Linked DNA regions of Homo sapiens: all the other regions are linked to region 1. The links are contacts of gene promoters, found by promoter capture Hi-C in human tissues and cell types (Jung and others, 2019). All regions are on one chromosome and are shown on one strand. Each heading gives the region's core, a stretch centred on a gene start or on the middle of the fragment in contact. The rest is flanking DNA. Distances are from core to core; before and after follow the strand shown.

Evidence for each region. Contacts are between HindIII fragments. The study calls those that stand out against the background at their distance.
Region 2: a fragment that was not itself captured here is called in contact with the fragment with the promoter of ITGB8 in region 1 in 1 of the 25 tissues and cell types used here (lymphoblastoid cells).
Region 3: a contact is called between a fragment that was not itself captured here and the fragment with the promoter of ITGB8 in region 1, in 1 of the 25 tissues and cell types used here (lymphoblastoid cells).

What each region holds. Positions count from the first base shown.
Region 1 is chr7:20,327,067-20,332,149 of GRCh38, forward strand. ITGB8 (integrin subunit beta 8) reads left to right here and starts at 3,834. Exons shown (of 14, transcript NM_002214.3): 1 at 3,834-4,867. The coding sequence starts at 4,741. It overlaps ITGB8-AS1 (ITGB8 antisense RNA 1), which reads right to left and starts at 4,696. Exons shown (of 3, transcript NR_110120.1): 1 at 4,584-4,696; 2 at 2,301-2,447; 3 at 1,235-1,790. RefSeq lists enhancers at 2,455-3,067, 3,155-3,224, 3,325-3,614 and silencers at 3,695-4,084, 4,555-4,794. The HindIII fragment of the contact is 8,908 bases long and covers 371-5,083 here.
Region 2 is chr7:19,927,148-19,932,230 of GRCh38, forward strand. All of the region lies in intron 5 of MACC1-OT1 (MACC1 3' UTR overlapping transcript 1), which reads right to left. Among named protein-coding and RNA genes, the nearest start is that of TMEM196, 160 kb to the left of the region's middle. The HindIII fragment of the contact is 5,349 bases long and covers 1-5,083 here.
Region 3 is chr7:19,983,635-19,988,717 of GRCh38, forward strand. The region is part of intron 3 of MACC1-OT1 (MACC1 3' UTR overlapping transcript 1); the gene reads right to left. Among named protein-coding and RNA genes, the nearest start is that of MACC1-OT1, 150 kb to the right of the region's middle. The HindIII fragment of the contact is 4,389 bases long and covers 836-5,083 here.

The DNA of each region.
Region 1 (5,083 bases), core at 2,584-5,083:
GTTCTCTCATACAGGTTTCTTCCTTTGGAGAATCTAATGGCATGCTGCTCTATTGAGTTTCCGGAAATTCCTCTAGTAAGGGATTTAATTTGACTTTAATTCAGCATTTCCCAAGCTTAATCATGGAAGTCTTGTTTCAGAAAACATTAATATCTCACAGATTGAGTCATCCATAAACTATCTTGGCAAGAGACACTGGCTCCAGCAGTTCATTTTTCTTTGAATTTGCACCTGACACTGATCTCTGTTATTAAACACTCATGAGGCCTTTAAGGAGTCTCTGTATTAACCCATTAAAGTAGGAAGTTCTTAAACTTCAGAGCATATAAAAACCATTTGAGGACCTTGGTATAATGCAGATTGCTGAGCACCATACAAGATCTACTAATTCAGAATCTCCTGGAATAGAGACAAGGAATTAGAACTCAGAATTACTCTATGGGGGATTGTGTTGTATGCAGTCTTCAGTCTACAGTATGAGAAACACTGTCTTATGTAACAATTCAGTGAAAAATACCTTCAAGCAATTTATGTACTTTATCATTAGAAGAAGCTAGAGGTCATAGTCACAATAATATATCTCACTGGTCTGACCATTAATCATCTTCTGAGATGTCTCAGGCAAGCTTATAGATAACTTGTGAATACCCACCCAAAACGTACTGAATGGCTCTGATCCCAACTTCAAAAAGATGTAACATTAAAATTCAAATGTGTCTGTAGGTGCCACTATGAGATCAATAATTTGGGCACATCTAGTTAAAGTGTGAATAGCCACAGCTGTATGTGGTGTCTTACACCTATAATCCCAGCTACACAGAAGGCTGAGGTGGGAGGATAGCTTGAGTTCAAACTTGAACCAGGAGTTCAAGGCCAGTTTGGGCAACATAGTGAGATAGCAAGATTCCATTTCTTAAAAAACAGTCTGAGTGTCTCCCTCACTCCTGCTACCTATCTATAGCTTATTCATTCTCACCATAAACTCACTTAGTGAGAAATCAAGGTTAAAGGAGTAGGGAAGAAATTTAAGTAATTTAATTTTATGACTTTTTAGTAACTCAGCTCAAAGACTCTAATGATAGGAAGCCTGGAATGAATAACTAAAATGTTATTTTTAGACTATCTGTGAATTTCATTTCCTCTCATTACCACAAATGATGAAAAATTAGCTGTCAGAAATTTCAAAGCAATATAGCAGAACATGATGGAAAAACAAATTAATCAAGTCACCATCTTCCGAAACATTTTTCCTTTATTAGAATTCTTCAGGTAATATGACGAAGATAACAATACTGCATTTCTTTAAAATATGCTGTACATTTCCTCATAGGAAAAAGGGTGAGTTATGGTGACCAGTGACATTAACTGGAAACAAGCAAACTTTTGGTTCCTGGGCCACTAGTTGTATTTACTTTAAGAAAACCCTAAAGATGATTTGCAGTCTTTCAGAGAGTTTACTTTTATGTTTACAGCCCAAAATGTGCAGATAACTTGTTTGTAAATAACTGGCAGGGGTCACAGTGTCACATCTAGGAGATTTCATTTTATTTTATTTCGACAACCAGAGTTACAGCCTCTTTACAACTGAGAAGTGGTAATAAATGGTATTGTGCTTATTCTTCAACAACTCCATAGCACTGGCACCTGACATATATTTGCATGAATTTCATGTAACAAAATGTAGAAATCTTTCTTTCTAAAGGGCTTCAAAATTTCCCGAAACAGACTTCTGAACTTCATTTTATTCCTCTTGCTACATGGTTGTTCTGGATTAGTATATATATCAACACCTAAAAACAGAGTTACAAAAATTAGTGCATACCTCATCAATTTCATAAAGTTACATCCTTTCTTGTTTGCATACATTTATATTTTATTTATTACTGTAACTGCCACTTACAACCCAGCAACAAAGAGTTGTATTTTAGAATATTATGGAATGGTGATATGATAGACACTTTAAAGTGTATTGACATGTCCTTATGGGAATTAGGGATTTAATTTTTTTTTTTTTTGATTGAAGCACTGCATGTCTCAAGGGTGGCTGCATTCAGTAGGTCTGTGACATAACCCCTGGAAAATACCCAGGCTGCCCAATGGAAGAGTCACTAATCAGATATTGAATATGATATTTTTGTGTTCAAATTTTCAAGTCCTCACACCCATCCTAACTAATTTTTAGGCCTTTCCTTTAAGACAACCAAAAAACAAAACTATAACTGTTCAAACTTGGAACTAAGGAAAGGAAATAAATATTAAAGCGGAGCTGGATTTATTTCTATTTATTTAGAGTACATCACCTCCAGTAGAATTATGTTGCTAAGGTTGGGATCACGGCTTTGGTCTCGCGAAGGGACCTGCTTTGCAGATCCAGGGCTCGTTTAATTTTCCAGCTGGGTTCCTGCTTTGCTTAACTAATCCTGTGCACCCCGTTGTGCGGTCCACACCTGAAAGGGGGAGTTTCGATGTTGTGGTTTATTAACCAGGTACTTTCCATTCACTCAGTCAACAGAAAGAAAGAGAGAGACCGCGCCTCCTACTTTTTTTTTTTTTTTTTTTTTAACTACAAATAAGGAGACGGAAACTATTAAATAAGAAGGGGGGAAACTCCCGCATATTTCACCTTGACCTGGCTGGACTGGTCTGCTGCCTCTAAGAGGCGGGTGTTGTATTAAAATGAGAGGTCAAACTCCTCGAATGGGAATCGCTCCTGCCCCTAGAGGGAAAAGAGAACCATCACCGTGTTAAACTGGAAACACTGCCTTGTTTCCAATGCGGGGGACTGAGTTCCCTCCCTCGACTTAGCGTGGTAATGACAGGACCCGAGGAGGCGCGCTGCTTCCGGGCAGTTGCCCAGCATAACACCCGCACCCTACTTGCACCTAAATTTCTGAGCTGCAAGCAGGCAGAAGTGCCTTCCACTTTCTCTCCTTAGCTCCCCTCTCCCCGCTTTGCTGCTGTCTGTAACTTTTTGTTCCGTTTACTGGGAAGGTGACGCTTAAGATCAAAAGACCCACTGTAACTTGCAAAAGCCCAGAGCCACCACCAGACGCTGGGGAAAAACAGGGCTGTCCAGTCCAGGGTTAAGGTTTTGAGCAGAGAAGGAGCAGCGAGAAATCTCGGCCAGTCGCTCCGGGAACAGCCCCTGCAGACTGGTCCAACTCTCCAAAGGCTAGGGACACCGGGGCAGCCTTGTGGTGGGGTAGAGGACGAGCTCCTAACTGCAAGCAAAGTGCTGAGTAGAGGGCGTTGGGGGCAGGGGAGGTCCCTTGACTCCACTTTGTATGCAGCAGCTGCGGGGCAGTGAGTATCTCCGAACAAAGCGGCGAGCAGCGCGGGGGTGAGAGATTGGGGTTTGCTCGCAGCTGCCGCTGGCGCTGAGCGAGTCTCCCACCACCCCCGCGAGCGTTGGGGTGCAAGGATTCGGGGGAGGAGGGAGAAGGGAACGAGGCGTGCCATTCCTGTTGCGCGGCTACGCTTCAGGAGTTCTTGTGAACGATGGGAATGGCAACTATCAGAGCCAAGGGGGAAAAGAAAGAGCTGGAGTGAGCAAAACAAAGAGCGAGTGTGGGCCGCGGTGACTTCATGCCTCACCAATGTCCCGCCCACGCTGCTCCGAGCTGTTACTGCTGCTCCTGCCCGGGCTGCAGCCGCGCCTGCGGGCAGCCGAGGCGAGGCGCTCCGGTAGCGTGGGGAGGTTTCCTAGCAACTCTCTGCCCTGAGTGCACCCGGCTACCCGCAGGTCTGGAGCCCCCCGGGGGGCCAGAGCAGGACCACCCCTCTCCCGCCCATCGCCGGCCTCGCCTCTCTCGCATCCTAGCCGTGTGCACCCCAGAGCGCGCCAGCAACTCGGGCTCTGGACTGCGGGACGCCTGAGCCGCGCACTGAGGCGAAAAGGACAAGGGCACGCAGCCCCCGCCCCGCGAAGCCGGGCTCCGGCACCTCGCGGAACCTCCCCTCCTGCGCTCGCAGCCGCAGGCCCCACTCCCCGCCAGGGAGGGAGCGGCGATGCCTCGCTCTGTGCCTGCGGGTGTCGGCGGGTGCTTCTAGGGCGCTCCCAGAGCCGCCTCCCCCTGTTGCTGGCATCCCGAGCTTCCTCCCTTGCCAGCCAGGACGCTGCCGACTTGTCTTTGCCCGCTGCTCCGCAGACGGGGCTGCAAAGCTGCAACTAATGGTGTTGGCCTCCCTGCCCACCTGTGGAAGCAACTGCGCTGATTGATGCGCCACAGACTTTTTTCCCCTCGACCTCGCCGGCGTCCCCTCCCACAGATCCAGCATCACCCAGTGAATGTACATTAGGGTGGTTTCCCCCCCAGCTTCGGGCTTTGTTTGGGTTTGATTGTGTTTGGCTCTTCGCTAAGCTGATTTATGCAGCAGAAGCCCCACCGGCTGGAGAGAAACAAAAGCTCTTTTCTTTGTCCCGGAGCAGGCTGCGGAGCCCTTGCAGAGCCCTCTCTCCAGTCGCCGCCGGGGCCCTTGGCCGTCGAAGGAGGTGCTTCTCGCGGAGACCGCGGGACCCGCCGTGCCGAGCCGGGAGGGCCGCAGGGGCCCTGAGATGCCGAGCGGTGCCCGGGCCCGCTTACCTGCACCGCTTGCTCCGAGCCGCGGGGTCCGCCTGCTAGGCCTGCGGAAAACGTCCTAGCGACACTCGGCCCGCGGGCCCCGAGGTGCGCCCGGGAGGCGCGAGCCCGCGTCCGGAAGGCAGTCAGGCGGCGGGCGCGGGGCGGGCTGTTTTGCATTATGTGCGGCTCGGCCCTGGCTTTTTTTACCGCTGCATTTGTCTGCCTGCAAAACGACCGGCGAGGTCCCGCCTCGTTCCTCTGGGCAGCCTGGGTGTTTTCACTTGTTCTTGGACTGGGCCAAGGTGGTAAGTTGTTTTGTTTTGTTTTGTTTTCTTCTCTTCCCCAAAGGTCTTGGGCTGGCACGAAGAGCTGCCCGGCCAGAGCATCCCGGCCAGGTAAGTTGCGGTCATCAGAGAACTTCAAGGGGGCGGGTGCGGGGCAGCGTCCTCCAGCACAGATGGCCTAGAGGCCAGGTGTCAAGCATTTCTGCCCTGGAGCGACAGCAAGGACTAATTATCAGA
Region 2 (5,083 bases), core at 1,216-3,715, 400 kb before region 1:
AACATTTTACAGGGAGAGGAGACAGGGAATCTAAAACAAAGCAATTGCCATTACTCTACCTTAAATAATATCCTTTGGTTTCAGCACTTAATTGAAACTACTGTACCAAAGAACAATGACTATCTAATTTCCATTCCGATATACATTTCCCCTCCTTTTTGAATTTGGTCTTTAATTAGCATTTAATACCATGTACCATTTCTGTTATATGCCTAATATTAACTAATGGGGACTACCATTTAAGTAGAATTTGGATTTTTCTGAAAGGCTGGAGATTTTAAATGAGGTTTTTCCTCTTTTTGTAATCTCTCTTTTTTTTAATTCTTGAATGCAACTTTTATTCTTTTTATTTACTTAAGATAAATCTCCAGAAGCTAATGTTTGGGTTACAAACATGATTTTTTTAAAATCGATCTTGAAATTACTTGCCAAATCACTTCTCAAAAGAAGAAAAAGTAGTGACAATATACAAGTATATATATTACAGCTTTCACTATAATCTTCTTGTGAGATTTCATAATTTAAAGATATTTTTCAAACCCCAAAGATTACATCACAATTTAACTTTTTATGAGATCTGGTTTTCTCAAAATAGAACAATGTAAAGACCTGTATCTATATTTGCATCTTTTTGTTTTCCCAGAAATAATTATAATACATCTTTCCCTCATTCTGTTTCCGTCATGTATCATGTATCATGTATCATGTTTAGTGGTACTTAGGTTTTTCTATGTAATATGAAACATTATAGGTAAGTTAAAGCCTGCAAAGCACAATGTTAAATTTTAATTTTGATGATCCATTGGTTCTTGGAAGTATGTAATGGTTGGAAAAAGTTAAGGATGCAACTTCATTTTTGAAACAATATGGGATGTGAGAAAGCAAATATGATTCACAAAGGAAAACACCAAAAGACAAGAAGTGAAAGTGTATTGTTATGAAAAGATGTTATTGTTATAAAAGATGAAATTAGGAAAGCATAGAGTTATTCTAATATAGGAAAACTCTTCTTTAAAAGCTTTGTGAAAACACTGTTTTTGAGTCTCAGCTTGTTTCCATAGTATCCCAGGTAAAAATACACTTTTCTTTCATTATTCATTGCCTTTGCACCAGCTGTTCCCTTCATCTAGATTCTTCTCTGTTATTCCAGTGCAGGGGTTCTTAATCTCAGCACTGTTGATACATTTGACAATTTGCACAGTTGTTTTTGCTGGAGGGGTGTGGGGAGATGTCCTGTTCACTGTAGATTGTTTAGTAGCATTGCTGTTTTAAAAATACTGGAAACAGTAATACAAACCTCCTACTACCACTACTGAGTCATCTTGTACCCTCTTTGAGAACAGTGACTCTAGTGAAACTTATAAATGAAACATAGCTGTAGTGGAAAAAAAAATTCAGAGATCACCTCAGAAAAGACTTTGAAATACCTAAGCCCTCCCTTCCAACAGATCTGATCATTTTTTTTGTGCTTCTGTCATATGTTAAAGCAACCTCTTTTATAAAAATTATTATACTGTTTGTCTTCATGGAACAAATATTTGTTCAATGCTTGAGCTAGCTAGCTCTGGTGAATCTAGTGTTCTGGTGTGTATTTCTTTCCAAAAAGAAATACAATGTTTCATAATATAATGTCATCCTGAAATCAACCATGGGGGTAGTATTAATGCCGTGGAAATTGGAAAATGCTGCAAATCGGGTTTTTGTTTTCCTTAGAGAGCTAATTATTAAACATTTAATAATACCCCTCATGCCTATTATATGCAACTCTTCTCTGAGTAGTGGGAACATATGAGAAAAGAAAGACGCCATGTCATCTAATAAGTTTTATTAACTGGATTGTGAACTCCTTGAAGAAAAGATTATTTTCTACTCATCTTCTAAAACGAGTACTAGCATAGTGATTGATTCATTGATGACACTCAAAAAAGTTAATAACAACATTTATTTGAGCATTCATTTAAATTATGAGTGTGGGATTTCTTCAAAGGACTTTCTTAAACGATGCTTTTGCTTCTGTTTATTTTTGAATCTAGAACTTTCTTACAACAGTTGGATGTTTCAGTGGTTAGTTTATTTTTATATTTCTAAAATTTAGTAATTCAGCAGGAAGGTTCTCTCAAGCTGCAGGAAGTTTTGCAGTTTAAGGCTATTCTGAGCTTTTCAACATGCTTTTTGTGATTTCTTACAATTACTTTGACCATTTCATTCAGCAGGGACTTTTGTAAAGTTAAGCTTTCTCTTTCATTCTCCTAACAATTACTCATCACTCCACGGTTTTTGCCTCATTTTTTCTTTTTCTTTCTTTTTTTTTCCTTGCTTTTCTTTTTCTTTACTTTTTTGGTGGTTCAGACTTTTATATCTGTACTATATATTGATTTTTAAAGCCCTTTTTATTAGAACATAAAATCAGCATATTTTTAGAGAAGTGATTACACATGGGAAGGAGAGGAAAAGAAAAAAAAAGGATTAAGTTTTAAGAATTTAGCTCTATCTATGATAATTTCATTAAAAAAAATCCTAAAACAAAAATGTCAATTCCTTAACTGTTGTTAAACTTATATGTCGAATAAAGAAGTGAATATTTTCTGGCTGGGCGCGGTGGCTCACGCCTGTAATCCCAGCGCTTTGGGAGGCCAAGGCGGGTGGATCACGAGGTCAGGAGATCGAGACGATCCTGGCTAACACGGTGAAACCGCGTCTCTACTAAAAATACAAAAAGTTAGCCAGGCGTCGTGGTGGGCGCCTGTAGTCCCAGCTGCTCGGGAGGCTGAGGCAGGAGAATGGCGGGAGCCCGGAAGGCGGAGCTTGCAGTGAGCCAAGATCGCACCATTGCACTCCAACCTGGGTGACAGAGAGAGATTCCATCTCAAAAAAAAAAAAAAAAGAAAAAAAAAAGTGAATGTTTTCTCTACTGTGTGTATGTTTAAAATGTTTTATAATTAAATATGAAATAATAAAGCATTGTGTTTAAAAATTAGATAATCTAGAAAACATAATGGAAGTAAGGATTGGCCAGAATACTAACACCCAGTGGTGATATCCCAAGTATGTATTAATAATAACCAGTGTGGCATGGGTACTGATCAGTCAGCAGGGATTTTAGATAACTTCTGCATGACTACATTCATGCATACTTCCTGATGCCTGTTCTGCCAGCAGCCACTGGAAACTACTGCCCATATTTTGTTTGTACCTTTATGGACTTTTTTGTGCATACCTTTATTTTTTACATTACATATTTGAATATAGGCATGCTTATTTTTTTCAGAAATTCCAGCACGTGGTTTTTTTTAATAATAATTTTTATGGTTGTAGTTCTTCACTTATCTATTGTTAGTATCTCCCACTGGATTCAAAACTTCAGAAAGTCAGGGCTCCAGTCTCTCCTGCTCACCATGATATATCTGGGACTTAGCCTAGTGCTTGTAATATGGAATACACAAAATATATATCATTAACTTTTTTAATATAAATAGATCTATAAGTACATTAGTATTTTTCTTGGTTGTATAGTATTCTATGTCCTGATATATCATAAATTATTGGATAATCTGTTGTTGGACATTTTGATTAATTTTTTTCTCCCTGTATTTCCCGGGAGACTTTCCTTGTGCTCTCTTTCATTGTGTAGATTTTTAAGGCAAAGAGAAAGAATAGAATTTAGAGGAGGCTGTTGAGAAAAATGAAGATGGTACTGTAACCTCTTTGAGATATAACAGCACATTAACTGATTCCTTTGTGGTGATGGATGTATTAATACTTTAAAACAGTAAAATCTTTGAGGATTTCTCAAGTCAAATGACCTAAGATTGACCAATTCTAAGAAATCTGAGAATGGCATAACCTCTGTGAAACTGGTCCTAGAAAGAACAACATAAAGGTAAAGCGATTGAGTCACCAAAAGTTTGTGATACTGTGAGTGACAGTATTGGAATTTATACCAGTCTTTTGGGTTTGTCCAGGGAACATGTAGCCAAGCAAAATAGCTTACAAGCAACGTTTTGTGAAATGAATCCAAGTTTCCTCATTAACTTTAGCTTTCTATTGGGATGAAAGTTTAAAAATATTCAATTCTATTTTTAAAAATACTTTTCCAAGAGAGTATCGACAAGTCTGTTCAAAAGGTTTAAGGTATGCTGAAATCGATGTTCCTGTGGGAAGAGGGAGCTTTATGTTAGTACTTCCTGAACTTCTCAGCATGTTCCTTCTATATCCTCTCAGCTGTTGACCTTACAAGACAGTCTTTAAGTGTATACATTTGCTAGAAACGTCCTAAATCCACAAAATATGGTCTTGATTAATTTCATACATAAACATACTCTCATGTAGGATTAATTAATGTCTTCACTGTTAGAAAAAACAGATCCCAATATGTGACTAAGGACCAATGTGGGCAACACACAGTCCTGATTTACTTCAAGTTAAGCATCAAGATACAACAATAAAATCTCATATGGAAATATTGTAGATTACTTTACTGGAGAATGATTTGATTGGCAATGAACCCCTTAGTGCCTATAATAATTGAATAAGTCTGTTCTCACACTGCAAATAAAGACATACCCAAAACTGGGTAATTTATAAAGAAAAAGAGGTTTAATGGACTTATAGCTCCACATGGCTAGGGAGGCCTCACACTCATGGTGGAAGGTGAAGGAAGAGCAAGGACACATTTTACATGGCAGCAGGCAAGAGAGTTTGTGTGTGGGAAGTGCCCTTTATAAAACCATCAGATCTTGTGAGACTTATTCCCTATCACAAGAAGAGCACGGGAAAAGCCCGCCCCTATAATTCAATTACCTCCCACTCGGTCCCTCTCATGATATGTGGGGATTATGGGAACTACAATCCAATATGAGATTTGGGTGGGGACACAGCCAAACCATATCAATACTTAAAAATACAGGAAGAGGTGGGCTGGGCTCAGTGGCTCATGCCTGTAATCCCAGCACTTGGGAAGGCTGAGGCGGGTGGATCACGAGGTTAGGAGTTCTTGATCAGCCTGACCAACATGGTGAAACCTCATCTCTACTAAAAATACAAAAATTTGCCAGGTGTGGTGGCATGCGCCTGTAATCCCAGC
Region 3 (5,083 bases), core at 1,780-4,279, 340 kb before region 1:
GCTCTCAAGTTAGCTTGTGGTGAATGCTGCCTGACCTGGGACTCACCCCATAAGGCAGTGGGCTCCCCTCTAGCCCAGGGCAGGTCCAGAAATGCCATCTAAGAGTAAAGTGCTAGAATCAGGGATCCCAAGAGGCTTCTTTGTGCTCTAACCCTCTGTGGCTATGCTGGCATCTAAGGTACAAGAAAAAGTCCCCTTTACTTTTCCCTCTGCTTTTCTCAAGCATAAGTGGTTTTGTCCCATAGCCACCATAGCTGGTAATGTGATGAGTATCAACTGAAGCCAGCATGTCTCAGAGGCTCACCCATGGCCCTCGACAGAGTACCTGGGTATCACTGATGATTATTTGGGGCCCAAAGGCTCTTTAGTCACTAGGTGATGAATGCTACCAGCACTGGGTCCTTTCCTTCAAGGCAGTTTCTAGACAAACCCTCTGGCCCAAGGTTTGTCTAGAAATACCATCTGGGAGCTAGAGCCTGCACCAAGGGCCTCATGATTCTGATCTGTACCCTGTCTTTCTGTGGCTGAGCTGGTATTCAATAGGCAAGTCAAAGTCCTTCCCCCTCTTCCCTCTCCTCTCCTCAAACAGAAGGAAGGGGTCTCTTTGGATCCAAAGGCTGTGCAGACTGGGATTAGGGTACGGTGATGCCAGTACTCTCTTGGCTGCTCCAGCAGGTGGAGTACCTCAGTAGGTCCTGTGCCCCTCCCCCGCAGTCTACTGTCTTTGGGCCTAGTTTAGCACTAGCACTCACCTAAGGGTTGCAGTCCTTATGGCCTACACTGCCTTTCATGTTTAGTTGGAGACAGACCTCACCGTAGCCCTCAGTGGGAGGTTTGCAGGAACTCAAGTTCAGACTGCTGGGAGAGGTGATTACCCTCTGGGTAGAGCTGATTTAAATGCTCCCTCCATGGGCAGGTGTCAGCTGAGTTTGGCCAGGTTTTCCTTTCTGCTGTAATAGGATAGCACTGAGTCATTGCCTCACAATTGCTATGTTCTCCCTCCTCCAGCACCCAGAGATGCTCTCCTGAGGCCCAGACCACCACTGCCAGCCATGGAGGAGGAGTGGCGTTGGCGATTCAGGACTGCTTTTTCTGTCTCTTCAGTGCCTCTCTCAGCAACATGAAGGTAAAAACCAGGTACTGTGAGTGCTCACCTGATTTTTAGTTCTTGATGGTGTCTTTTCGTTGTAGATAATTGTTAAATTGGCATCCTTGAGAGGGGAACAATCAGTGGAAACTTCTAGTCTGCCATCTTCTTCCACCTCCCCTGATTTGATTTTTAATAGATTTATGTCTATCCCTTACATTTCTTTTGTAAGAATGTTTTCCTTTGTAACAAGAAATAACTATGTATTTGTTGAGAAATTGTGTCTTTTAAGGAATTGGCCTATTTTATCTAAGTTTTCCCAGTACTTTTAGTTCTGATATTAGTAATTAGTATCATCTCTATTCTTAGCTTTTCAATTTTTTCATCTTTTCAAAAAACCATCTTTTGGTTTTCTCTATTGATTTCTTGTTTTTAATTTCATTGATTTCTGCTCTAATTTTTATTATTTCTTTTCTTCTGCTTACTTTTGATTTTATTTACTCTTTCAAGTTTCCTAAGGTGGAAAACTAGAAATATCTTTCTCAATCCATTTACTTTTGCTATATGGAAGTAATTTCTCTAATGTTTGCAATATACCCTTACAGCTAATGCAAACCCACTTTCAAAGAGCATGCTATTGCTTCACAGGTAGTATGAATACCTTATATTTTAAAAAAATAATTAAAATGCCTTCCTCCCATTTCTTGTATCATAGCTGTCATTTACATCTAAGCATATATACTGTTCTTAGATACTGATATGGTTTGAATTTGTGTCCCCACACAAATCTCATGAGGAATTGTAATCCCCAATGTTGAAGGAAGGACCTGGTGGGTGGTGATTGGCTCAGAGGGGCCGATTTCTCCTTGCTTTTCTCATGATAGTGAGTGAGTTCTCATGAGATCTGGTTGTTTAAAAGTGTATAGCACCTCCCCCTTCTCCCTCTTCCTCCTGCTCTTGCCAGGTAAGACGTTCCAGCTTCCCCTTCACCATCCATCATTCTTGTAAGTTTCCCGAGGCCTCCTCAGAAGCAGAAGCCTGTACAGCCTGTAGAACCATAAGCCAATTAAACCTCTTTCCTTTATAAATTACCCAGTTTCAGGTATTTATTTGTAACAGTACAAGAACGAACTAATGCAGACACACACACACACACACACACACACAAAGATATATGTGTAAGCATACATAATGAAATACATTGTTGCTATTACTTTATGAACAAAATGTTATCTATTAGACCAACTAAGAATAAGAAAAATAAAAGCTTTTGTTTACCTTCATTTATTCCTTCTCTAATGCTCTTCCTTTTTTACGTAGATATGTGTTTCTGACCTATATCATTTTTCTTCTTTTCAAATAAATAACTTCTTTTAACAATTCTTGCAAGACAAGTCTACTGGCAACAAATTTATTCAATATTTATTTGTCTGAGAAAGGTTTTATTTCTCCTTCACTTTTTAAAATTGTGAAATAACACTTAACATGAGATCTGTTAACAATTTTTAAGTGTACACTACATAATTTTTGACTGTAGGTACAATATTGTAGAATAGATCTCTAGGCTTGTTTATGTTGCTTGAGTGAAAGTTTATATCTGTTGATTTCCAACTCCATTTCTCCATCCTCCAGCCCCTGGTTACCACCATTCCACACTTTGATTCAATGAATGTAACTATGTTAGTTACGTTACATAAATCATGCATTGTCTTTTTGTTACTGGCTTATTTTATTTAATATAATGTCTTTAGGTTGCATCCATGTTGTTGCATATTGCAGAATTTCTTTATTTTAAAAGGCTGAGTAGTATTCCATTGTATGTATATATCACATTTTCTGTATCCATTCATCTGCTGATGGCATTTAGACTATTTTTATTTCTTAGCTGTAATGAATAGTGCAACAATGAACACAGAAGTGTTAATATATCCACAAGATCATGATTTCAGATCCGGAATGGGATTTCTGGATCATATGGCAGTGCTATTTTTAAATTTTTGAGGAACCTTCTTACTATTTATAGCAGCTGCGCCATTTTGCATTCCCCTCAGCAGTACCATGCAAGGGTACCAATTTCTTTCCCTAGTATTGTTTCTTCTTCTACTTTTTTTAAGTAATAGTCATCCTGGTAGGTTTGATATAACACCTTATCATGGTTTTGATTTGCATTTACATTAAGATCAGAAACATTGAGTACTTTTTCATCTACCTCTTGGGCATTTACGTGTCTTTTTGGAGAAACGTCTATTTGAGTCCTTAGCCCACTCTCACTTCTACGAATTTTAATGTTTGGGATCTTACATTTAGGTCTTTAATCTGTTTAGAATAAAGTTTTGTGTACGGTGTGATATAAGGGTCCAGTTTCATTCTTTTGCATGTGGATTCCAGTTTTCTCAGTACCATTTATTGAAGAGACATTCTGTTTTTCATTGTGTATTTTGGCACCTTTCTGGAAAGTCAGTTGACTGTAAATATGTAGATTTGTTTCTAGGCTCTGTATGCTTTTCCATTGGTTTTTATGTCCATCTTTATGTCAGTGCATTCTGTTTAGATTACTGTAATTTGTAATGTATTTTAAAATCAGAAAATATGGTGTCTATGGTTTTATTCTGTTTGCTCAAGATTTATTTAGCTATTCAGAGACTTTTGTGGTTGCATGTGAATTTTAGAATTGTTTCTATATCTGTAAAAAAATACCATTGGGATTTGGTAGAGATTACTTTGGGTAGTGTGGACATTTTAACAATATCATGTTGTTCAATCCATGAAGATGGAAAGTCTTCATATTTGTTTTCTTCTGGTTTAATTTCTTTTATCAATGTTTTGTAGGTTTCAGTATATAAGTCTTTGACCTCCTTACTGAAGTTTATTCCTAGTTTATTCTTTTTGTGCTGTTTTAAATGGGATTTTCATAGTTCCCTCTTCAGATAGTTCATTGTTAGTATATAGAAGTGCAACTGATTTTTGTAAGTTGATTTTGTATCCTACAACTCTACTGAATTCATTCAATTTTTCTAACAGTTTCTAAAAGTTAACAGATTATACCATCTACACCAGGGAACATTTTACTTTTTCTTTCTTATTTGAATGACTTTTACTTCTTTTTCTTGCCTACTTGCTCTGGCTAGGACTTCCAGTAGTATGTTTAATAGAAACGGTAAAAGTGGGCATCCTTGTCTTGTTCTTGATATTGGAGGAAAAACTTTAAATTTTTCACTGTCAAGTATGATGTTAGCTGTGGGCTTATCATATTTGACCTTTATTATGTTGAGGTAATTTCTTACTTTTCGTAATGTGTTGAGAATTTCTATCATGAAAGCATAATTAATTTTGATAAGTGCCTTTTCTGCATTTATGATCCTGTAATTTTTATTTTTTATTATGTAATGTGCTATATTGATATTGTATAATAACATACATTAATTTTAAAAAGTTGAACCATCCTTATGTATCAGGTATAAATCCCAATAATCATAGTGTATGATTCTCTTAATGTTAGTATGATTCTCTTAATGTTATGTTGGACTCAGTTTGCTAGTATTTTATTGAGGAATTTTGTATTCAAATTTACCAAGGATCTTGGCTTTGTTTTCTTTTTTGTGATGCCTTTGTTTTCTTTTTTGTGATGCCTTTGTCTGGCATTGGTATAAAGGTAATGCTGGCCTGATAAAATGCATTTGAGTGTTCCTTGAGGTATGAAGTTAAATTGTTAATTAATATCCTTCCTCTTTATAATATAGTCATTCATTACTGTCAACTGCCCTCTTGGTACTGCTTTTGCTTCATTTCATTACTTTTGGTACGTTGTGCTTTTGTTTTTGTGGGGGAAGATAAAGCATTCTTATAGTTTATAAATCTGTGTGAGGGTTTGGGTACACCTGTGCTCTGGGACTGTGAACTTCGCCAGTGATTCTCAGTATTTTTTTTCCCTTAAGTGAGACAGAATGGCTAGAGGGTACTGGAGTTGGGTATTTCCCTTCCCCAGGTAAGTTAGAC